Regions from separate parts of the Homo sapiens genome. Here all the other regions are linked to region 1. Evidence: promoter capture Hi-C in human tissues and cell types (Jung and others, 2019). All regions are on one chromosome and are shown on one strand. The core of a region is centred on a gene start or on the middle of the fragment in contact, and the rest is flanking DNA. Distances in the headings are between cores, read along the strand shown. Region 1 holds the start of SEC24A (SEC24 homolog A, COPII component). Region 2 overlaps SEC24A (SEC24 homolog A, COPII component). Region 3 has its middle 40 kb from the start of SAR1B.

Region 1 (3,393 bases), core at 658-3,157:
CACACCTGGCTAATTTTTGTATTTTCAGTAGAGACAGAGTTTCACCATGTTGGCCAGGCTGGTTTTGAACTCCTGACCTCAGGTAATCCGCCCGCCTTGGCCTCCCAAAGTGCTGGGATTACAGTTGTAAGCTACCACGCCCGAGCAAATACATTTTTAGTAAAGTTCTGAGGCAAATGATGAAAACAGGGTTAGTATAAAATTTAGTATTTAGTTATTTGAATTTTTACTGACCTTTTTTAGGCCTGACACAGTGGTTTATTCTTTTTCTTTTCTTAGAGACAAGATCTCACTCTGTCATGCAGGCTGGAGTGCAGTGGTGAGATCACAGCTCACTGTAGCCTCGAACTCCTGGGTTCAGGTGATCCTCCCACATCAGCCTCCTGAGTAGCTGGGACTACAGGGATGTGCCACCACACTGGCCACTTTTTAAAAATTTATTTAATTAAAAACATTGGCTGGGCATGGTGGCTTACGCCTGTAATCCCAGCACTTTGGGAGGCTGAGGCGGGTGGATCAACTGAGGTCAGGTGTTCAAGACCAGCCTGGCCAACATGGTGAAACCCTGTCTCTACTAAAAATACAAAAATTAGCCAGGCATGGTGGCAGGAGCCTGTAATCCCAGCTACTCGGGAGACTGAGGCAGGAGAATTGCTTGAACCCAGGAGGCGGAGGTTGCAGTGAGCGGAGATGGCACCACTGCACTCCAGCCTGGGCAACAGACCAAGACTCTGTCTCAAAAATATATATATATATATATTTTTTAAATAGAGATAAGGGGACTCTCCCTGTTGTCCAGACTGGTCTCAAACTCCTGGCCTCAAGTAATCCTTCTGTCTCAGCCTCCCAAAGTGCTTGGATTACAGGAGTGAGCCACCTTGCCCAGCCCGACACAGTGGTTTAGATCTGGCTTTTTTTTGTATGTAATATAACACTTCATAGCAGGCATTTGGTATTAAATGAATTAGGTAAGATGTACTTCACACTGAGGTTTCGAAACCGCGTGGCATGACATTTTAATCCACAGTACAAATCTGTAAAGGAGGGCTTTATCGTCAGCACAGAGCAGGAAAAACCTAAATAGAATGAAGGCAGCTAAGATGATTACTCAATCATTAATTAACTATGTTGTCCAATCACCGCAGTTTCGACCTCCCTTTGGCTTCAAAAGTCAAAAAAGTCAACTTGCAAAAAAAAAAAAAGTCTACTTGCTCTGAAAGGAAGTTTGAGTTCTTTACCTTACTGTAAACTCTTAGAAGAGGAAACAAAACTGCCATTTAAATGTGCTAATGAACTTGAGCGTGACTATGCTGTGAATCAGCGAGTTTCAAAATTAAAATTCCTCTGAGTCCTCCAGTCAAAGACAAAGGCCTCCTTCTTGGCTTGATCACACTATTAACATGTACACATATTTAACCACCTCTTTTTAAAACCCCTTATAATTTACATCTGAAACACGAAGACGAAATGTGAATGAAATACTGCGATGAACATTAACCGCCCCAGCTCCCAGTGGTGGTACGGTCTCAACAGAGGACGATGACTTCTATGGTCTCAGGTAATCTTCACAAAACCCGAGGAGAGGAACTGTCAGTCCCACCCCACGAAAGCGGCTACTGAATCTCAGATTGCCCCACGATCCTGGCTCTGCGAGCGAGGTCACGTTCACAACGGCGGGAATTTCCGTAGCGGTGACACACGGCACTTCCGGCCGGCCGTGAGAGTCGGTGACGTGGCGGCGAGGCCGGGCACGGTCGTCGGGGTCGGGGCACCAGGAGCTGTCAGGTGGCCTCGGGGCAGCCCGGCTGGCAGAGAAGAGTTCGCCGGCGCGGCGGCGGCTGCTGCGAGCCCGGAGCCGGAAGTGCCACGTGTCCTGATTGCGGCTGCGCGGCCGGCGGCTGACAGGCACTTCCGGCCAGGGCCTCCCTCCTTCTCTCTAGGTTTGGCTGCCGCCTTCTAGCCGGGCGTTCGCGGCCCCGCCGGCCCGACTCTCAAGCCTCAGCTCCCAGGCTAGGCTGTGGCCGCCGGTGGCCTGGGGAGAGTGCGGCGCCATGCCTCGGGCTTAATGCGCCCCCCCCTCTTCTCCCAGTCTTCAGTCTTAAGTCGTTAGCCTCCTCCCTCCGCTTTCAGCAGTGGTCTTTCAGCTCTCTTCTTGTGCGCTGTTGTCGACCCCGACCAGCCCCTTCCAACCCAGTCATCATGTCCCAGCCGGGAATACCGGCCTCCGGCGGCGCCCCAGCCAGCCTCCAGGCCCAGAACGGAGCCGCCTTGGCCTCGGGGTCTCCCTACACCAACGGTGAGTGCTGTCCGGGGGGAGGGCGCAGCCTGGCCAGGGCTGACTGACCTTTGCGTGCCACTGCTGCTTGAGGCGACATAGATAGAGAGAGTGACCTCCTTACCGGGTTCTGGCGCGGATGGTGGTGGGCGGCTGGGCCAGGGGACCACGGCAGTTGTGCACCTGTAGCCCCAGGCTCGTCTCAGTCTTTCACATTTATTTAGTCGGTCACCAAAACAGTAAATGAGCACCTGCTGTATGCAACGCCCTGGGTGAAACACGGGTGAGAAAATGCCTCAAAACTCGAATATAAGGATCATAGTGTTTGTGTGCCTTCGCCTTCCTTGCCACCTCACCCCAGTCTCCTAGAGAGCAGGATGTGGGGTCTGATTCTTCTGGGTTCCGCAGGCCCTGAAGTGGGGTGGGGGTCGTACTCAGTCTGAGTTTCTGGAGATGAATGCATGCTTTTGGGACACCCCTTTAGGGCCTACTCATCTCTCCCAGAACCTTCCCAGAATTGTACCTACAACAGCTGTTCAATGTTTCAGCTGTGGAAAAACCAAATAGAAGGGAGGATCTCCTGGTTGACTTCTAGATGTCTGGACAGCATTTGGAAAGTGGGTGGACACAACTCTCTGAATCTCTGACAAGAGTCTACATGTACATTATAGTTTGTCATTTGATGTGAGAATGTCTTATAATTTTATACCTCTTCTAGGATTCCTTAAATCGTCCTACATTGTGATTTGCTAAGATTATTTCAGTTGTTACAATAGACAAAGACTTTCTGCCGACAGATTGCCTACTTACCAATTTACTTACAAATCTTTGGTTTACAGAAATAAGACTAGTAGAATAATGCTAAAGAACTTAAGTTGCCCATTAGAGTCTAAGAGTTCTGTGAAGTTGGAGAATACAGACAGTGACTAAAATCTCTAATTTACATTGTTTTTAGAGAAGACCGCTGTTTTCTTTACAAAGATGGCTCTAAAAGACTTTTAAAAATGTCTGTGAGTAGGCAACTATGTGGGCAGAAGAAAGAATAAGTGGAGGAAAGCCACTGAAAGGGTACTGAGTTAACCATTCTTTCTCAAAATTATGGTAACAGATTATGTACA
Region 2 (3,393 bases), core at 579-3,078, 55 kb after region 1:
ACACATACACTTTCACTTCATTTTTATGTAGTTAAAAATGGTATGTATCAGAATTTCTTATTAAAAATGGTATATATCACTTGGTATATACCGAATTTCCTATACATTTGCATACTTAGGTACATCTCCATGGAAAATGTATCTTATGGTCGATTTACATAAGTGACATATTGTATGTATTTTTATTCAATAAACCTTGAAGATTCATTAATTTTAGATCATATAAATCCATCACATTAATTTAAACTTCTGCCTATTCTACCTAGTATTCAGCAGACTGAACAAATCACAGTTTAGTTTTTGTTTGTTTGTTGTTGTTGTTGTTGTTTTTTGAGACAGAGTCTCACTCTGTCACCTAGGCTGGAGTGCAGTGGCGCGATCTTGGCTCACTGCAACCTCTGCCTCTCAGGTTCAAGCGATTCTCCTGCCTCAACCTCCCGAGTAGCTGGGACTACAGGCGTGTGCCACCATGCCCGGCTAATTTTTGTATTTTTAGTAGAGACAGGATTTCACCATGTTGCCAAGGCTGGTCTCGAACTCCTGACCTCAAGTGATCTGCCTGCACCAGCCTCCGAAAGTGTTGGGATTACAGGCATGAGCCATTGTGCCTGGCCTAGTTTTTCTACTGATACCCATTGAAGGTATTTCTAAATTTTTTTTGCTGTGACACACCAGTCTACTTGAAATTTTTCTGCATGTGTGAATTTGGCACTTAAATGAGTATATCTGTAGGACACATTCTTTGATATGGGATTGCTAAAGTCAAAATAAGTATCTAGAATTTTGATAGATACTGCCAAATTATCGTCCAAAAATGTTTTTTGTGTTTCTTTTTGAGACAGAGTCTTGCTCTGTCGCCCAGGCTGGAGTGCAGTGGCGCAATCTTAGCTCACTGCAACCTCTGCCTCCCGGGTTCAAGCAATTCTCCTGCCTCAACCTCCTGAGTAGCTGGGATTGCAGGCGCCTGCCACCATGTTCGGCTAATTTTTGTGTTTTTGGTAGAGACAGGGTTTCACCATGTTATTGGCCAGGCTGATCTCAAACTGACCTCAGGCGATCCACCCACCTTGGCCTCCCAAAGTGCTGGGATTACAGGCGTGAGCTACCGCACCTGACCCAAAAATGTTTTTTGAAAATTAGTATCCCCACCTTCATTTCAAAAGCCATCTGTTATTCCTTAACCTCACTAAGTACTGTGTATTATCTAGATTTCTTTACTTTTTGCCAATCTGATAAGTAACTAGGATAAAATGTAAATATCAGTATGTAGGTATATAAAAATAATTTTGTTACCTTTTTCTCTTCTAGGTCTTTCCATTCATACTTTCCATGGAAACTTCTTTGTTAGGTCAACCGACTTACTGTCTTTGCCTAACGTCAACCCAGACGCTGGGTATGCAGTACAGATGTCAGTGGAAGAGAGTCTTACTGACACTCAGTTGGTTTCTTTTCAGTCAGCACTCTTGTATACATCCAGCAAAGGTAAATTGTTTGTTTTTTTTTGGATTTCAAATGTTCAAATATTGTCTGGATTTCAAATGTCAAAATGGGCTATAAAATACATGTAGCATATCTTATGTGTGCTAACTTAAAATTGCTGTTTTTATTTATTTATTTATTTATTTATTTATTTATGTAGAGACAGAGTCTCACTCTGTCACCAGGCTGGAGTGCAGTGGCGCAGTCTCTGCTCACTGCAACCTCTGCCTCCTGGGTTCAAGTGATTCTCCTGCCTCAGCCACCCGAGTAATTGGGAGTACAGGTGTGCGCCACCACATCCAGCTAATTTTTGTAATTTTAGTAGAGATGGAGTTTTGCCATGCTGGCCAGGATGGTGTGAATCTCTTGACCTCGTGATCTGCCCGCCTCTGCCTCCCAACGTGCTGGGATTACAGGCATGAGCCACTGCGCCCAGCCCTTAAAATTTTCATTACCAAAAGCAGTAAACCAACTAAAAAGTTCAAAAAAGAGATTTTTAAAAATTTAGCATATTGTCATTTGAATGCGATCCCTGTTCATTTAGTAATAACCTGAATGAAAAGAATTTTATAGTTAAAACAATTAAAAGAAGTAGGGTCAGGTGTGGTGGTCTGTAAACCTAGCACTTTGGAAGGCTGACTAGGGAGGATCACTTGAGGCCAGGAGTTCAAGACCAGCCTGGACAACATAGTGAGACACTGTCTCTAAAAAAATATTTTTTTAATTAGCCAGGTATAGTGGCACACACTGGTAGTCCTACCTACTTGGGAGGCTGAGTAGGGAGGATTGTTTGAGCCCAGGAGTTTGAGGCTGCAGTGAGTTATGATTGTGCCACTGCAGTCCTGCCTGGGCAACAGAATGAGACCTTGTTTCTAAAAAAAAAAAAAAAGGATGAAATTTTTAATATTTATGTACTTATTTATTTTTAATAGAGATAGGGTCTTACTATGTTGTTCAGCCCTGTCTTGAACTCCTGGCCTCAGGTAATCCTCCCACCTTAGCCTCCCAAAGTGCTGGGTGCTGGGATTACAGGTGTGAGCCACTGTGTCTGGCCAGTATAAAACGTTTGATACTGTCTCTGCTTACTATGTAACTATACTACCTGGTTCTAAATCGAAAAGAAGTTATTTATATTTATATTTATATATATATATATATATATTTTTTTTTTTTTAATTAATTTATTTTTTTTTAAGAGATGGAGTCTCACTGTATTGCCCAGGCTGCACTTAAACTCCTGAGCTCAAGGGATCCTCCTGTCTCTGCCTCTGGAGTAGGTGGGACTACAGGGATGCACCACTGCACCCAGCTAAGAAGTGATTTTTCCAAGTGACTTTAACATAATCTTTTGTTTTATATAGTTGCCCCTCACTGTTGTTTGTGTATTTTCCCCAAAGGCGAAAGAAGAATTCGTGTTCATACTTTGTGTTTGCCAGTAGTTTCGACTCTGAATGATGTCTTTCTTGGAGCTGATGTTCAAGCAATTTCAGGGTTATTGGCCAATATGGGTAAGAGTTGTTATCTGTTATAAATATCTTACAAGTAATAACATTAGGCACATCCAAACAGTTTTGTTTTCCTTTAAATAGTTAGCTTTATAGTTTGAATGTTTTAGATCCCCTGGGTGCCTGCTAAGTAACTATTTGAAAAGATCTGCTGCAGATAATCTTATCTTTTTTGTTTGTTTATTTAAACAAATTTATTGAGATATAATTACATACCATACCACTTCACCCAGTTTAATTGATAATTCATTTGTTTTTAGTGTTTTTACAGAGTTGTACAGCTATCACCACAATCTAATTTTATAACATTTCTATTGTCTCAAGAGGAACCTCATGCTCATTAGCAGTTACTGCCCACTTCTTCCTCCCTCCCTTACTGGCCTTAAGTAACCACTAAACTACTTTCTGT
Region 3 (3,393 bases), core at 465-2,964, 56 kb before region 1:
AGGAGTTCGAGACCAGCCTGGCCAACATGGTAAAACCCAGTCTCTACTAAAAAAAAAAAAAAGAGAGAGAGAAAGAAAGAAAGAAAAAATTAGTTGAGCATGGTGGTGTGCCTGTGGTCCCAGTTACTCTGGAGGCTGAGATGGGAGGATTGCTTGAACCCAGGAGGCAGAGTTTGCAGTGAGTGGAGATCAAGCCACTGCAATCCAGCCTGGGTGATAGGACAAGATTCTGTCTCAAAAACAAAAAAAGAATTTGGTAACACTCCTAGGTACCCTTTAAAGGCCTCCAGTTGGTTATACCCTATGACAGATTGGCCAGCAACTAATCAGAGGCTGAAGTGGATACTTGGCCCGTGGTCAATCAGAGGCTGAAGTGGAAATTTCTGTCTTGTTATCACAGGAGTGAGGATGTGGCCTGTATGCTGCCTAATCTTGCCTAGAAGTGGCTGCACCTGCTGTTCTTTTGCTTATGCCTTGATCCTTGGTGACCCTAATTCCCTATTCTCCTATCTCACCAGGGCCCTTTAACTTGAGGCCAGCTGGGTGAGGTGGGGCTAGCTGGCAGATGGGGCTGGGTGAGCCTCCATACACAACTTGGGCAGAGGAGAGAAGGAAGAAGCTTTATCCACTCAGCTTGTCACCTTTGCACCATCAGAACACCATTGTGGCGGCTGACTCATCTGTCACCAGGTGAGTGTGCCATTAGGAGCACAGGATTAGTCATGGGCGTGGTCATGGGGTGAGATGCCAGGTCGGGCTGGGATAGTGACACGGTGAAGCATGGAGCAGGGCCTAGAGGCACTGGAAGAGAAGAGGAGGCATCCCTCCTCAGGCTTGGAAGGGGGCCTAGGCCTCCCTGATAGGGATGGAGGCCTCTGTCTTTGGGATAATGCTCAAGTGGGTTGCCTCGGGTCTAGAGGTTTGTATTTAGTGGGTGGTCCCCCTTATTCTTCCCTCCATTCTCAAACTCCTGACTTTAGGTGATCCGCCCACCTCAGCCTCCCAAAGTGCTGGGATTACAGGCATGAGCCACTGCTCCCGGCCACTTCCCTCCATTCTCAATGAACATTAAGCAACATGTGGCCATTCAAGTCTAGAGAATTTATCCATGAATCCACCACGAAAGAGGAAGCTGCTAGAAATGGAATTTTGTTGTCCTTGGGGTAATGGAAAATTATTGACCTGCATTCTGGCCCTTAGTTTCCTCATTTGTTAATAAGGATGAGAGCTCCTGCTGGGCCCACCATGCAGGGTGGCTGAGAGGCTCAAAGAGGACATGGGTATGAAGTGGACAAAATGAGGAGCCACAAAAGGTGTTAGAGGAGGGCAGGACACAGTGGTACAGGAGAGCACTCACAGACTTGCTGACTGACCAGAGGCAAGGAGGCCAGAGGGATTTGTTTACCAACTCTCACTTCCCGGATTCTGAGCCGGTAAACCCTGTTTGTTTACAAGTTTTCACGGGCCTCCCTAAGCCCAACGGTGGTCTGGGGTCAGTTCCACTCTAGGGACTGGCCCGGTGCAGCCCCTAGATGGGGGCTGGTTGCAAACAGCTGATGGTCAGAGAAGCCGCTTCAGTCACATATCTGACAGTCAGCTGCCTGGGCCAAAAAACCACACAGCTCCCCAGCCTTGTGGGTTACTCAGGCCCCTTGTCAGCTCTGTGATCATCCTTCACACCTGAAAGCTTGTAACCCGAGAGGCTAGAGGTAGTTGAATAGGACATCCCTCCTGTGCCCTCACCTCACCCCTTTTGCAAAAAAGGAACATTCCATTGCTAGGGATTGAATGTTGTGATTAACATGAAACTCAGAAGAACAGCCAAGGGTTTGTAGAAGCCAAGGAGGAAAAGTGACTCAGCAAAATAAACTTTCACCTGTGGGTACTCTGAACTGCTATTTTGGGACTCTGGGAGCCTGCCTGGTTCTAGTGCCTGTTGCTTGGTATCAAAGCATTGCTCCCTAAATGCCAGCTGGAATATTCATGCCCATTCCTTACTGAAGTAGCATCCTAGGAGGCTTGGGAGGGAGGTCTGATGGATGGGCCTTATCTCTGCCACATCCAGGTAAGAGTCACAAGTGAAGCCTGGGCAACCTGGCAAAACCCCATCTCCACAAAAAGATACAAAATTAGCTGGGTGTGGTGGTGGGCATCTGTAGTCCCAGCTACTCAGGAAGCTGAGGTGGGAGGATAGTCTGAGTCCAGGAGGCTGCAGTGAGCTGTGATCATACCACTGTACCCCAGCCTGGGTGGCAGAGTGAGACCCTGTCCCAAAAAAAAAGAGTCTCAAGTGAGCCAATGTCACAGGAGAAGTAGACATGCCCCCGTAGAGGCATCGGGGATCAGAGGGGACTCTCAAGAAGAGAGTAAATCTTAGGGATTCCTCTCCCCTCCAGGAATACTTCCATCCAGTCAAGAAAGGGCATGGGATTGGCACTAACTTGCCCCGTCAATTTTAACTCCTTCATGGCCCTCATCTGAAAAGCCTCATGTGGTTTGTAGGACCTCTGAGTTTGGGGAGAGTGTGAGAGCTCATTTCATCCAATCACTATCCCATGGAGTTCCCCTCTCTAGGAGAGACTGTTTGAATTCCAACAACAGCCCATCATTTGAAAGGCAACCCACAGCTGTGTTAAAAAGGTCTCTCTTAAATTCAATTGTAATGTCTCTTTGACACCTGACATTTCTATTCACAGGTCCTCTTGAGTCCTGGAGTCATAGATGAAGTCCAATTCACTTTCACTGGGCAGTCTTTGGACTATTTCATGACAGTTAAGCTACTCTGCCCACTTGATTTTTCAAGTTCAGTACTTTCCTAGGGGATTAAAACACAGGGTATTCTCCCTTCTTCATCCATTACACTTCTGCTTAATGGATGAAACCACCATACTGCTCCACTGTTCAGGCAAAGACAGTCCCAGGTCAGAGGTTTTTTTGTTTTGCTTTATGTTTTTTTGAGACAGGGTCTTGCTTTGTTGCCCAGGCTGGAGTGAACTGGCATGACCATGGCTCACTGCAGCCTCTACCTCTCAGGCTCAAGTAATCCTCCTGCCTCAGCCTTCTCAGTAGCTGGGACCACAGGTATGCATCACTATGCCCAGCTTTTTTTTTTTTTTTTGGTAGAGATGAAGTCTTGCTATGTTGCCCAGGCTGGTCTTGAACTTCTGGCTTCAAGTGCTCCCCCAAATTTGGCCTCCCAAAGTGCTGGGGTTACATGTGTGAGCCACTGCACCCAGCCTTCTTCTTTTTCTTTCTTTTTTTTTTTTTTAAGACGGAGTCTTGCTCTGTCACCCAGGCTGGAGAGCAATGGCGTGATCTCAGCTCACTGCAACTTCCGCTTCCCAGGTTCAAGCCATTCTCCTGCCTCAGCCTCCCAAGTAGCTGGGACTACAG

The links. Contacts are between HindIII fragments. The study calls those that stand out against the background at their distance.
Region 2: a fragment that was not itself captured here is called in contact with the fragment with the promoter of SEC24A in region 1 in 1 of the 25 tissues and cell types used here (small bowel).
Region 3: a contact is called between a fragment that was not itself captured here and the fragment with the promoter of SEC24A in region 1, in 3 of the 25 tissues and cell types used here (H1 embryonic stem cells, psoas muscle and small bowel).

What each region holds. Positions count from the first base shown.
Region 1 is chr5:134,646,878-134,650,270 of GRCh38, forward strand. It overlaps SEC24A (SEC24 homolog A, COPII component), which reads left to right and starts at 1,908. Exons shown (of 23, transcript NM_021982.3): 1 at 1,908-2,296. The coding sequence starts at 2,200. RefSeq lists enhancers at 1,449-1,508, 1,519-1,808, 1,556-2,093. The HindIII fragment of the contact is 35,050 bases long and covers 1-3,393 here.
Region 2 is chr5:134,702,451-134,705,843 of GRCh38, forward strand. SEC24A (SEC24 homolog A, COPII component) reads left to right here. Exons shown (of 23, transcript NM_021982.3): 16 at 1,309-1,482; 17 at 2,877-2,987. Among named protein-coding and RNA genes, the nearest start is that of CAMLG, 34 kb to the right of the region's middle. The HindIII fragment of the contact is 7,432 bases long and covers 1-3,393 here.
Region 3 is chr5:134,590,780-134,594,172 of GRCh38, forward strand. No RefSeq gene overlaps it. Among named protein-coding and RNA genes, the nearest start is that of SAR1B, 40 kb to the right of the region's middle. RefSeq lists enhancers at 760-819, 1,640-2,233. The HindIII fragment of the contact is 7,095 bases long and covers 1-3,393 here.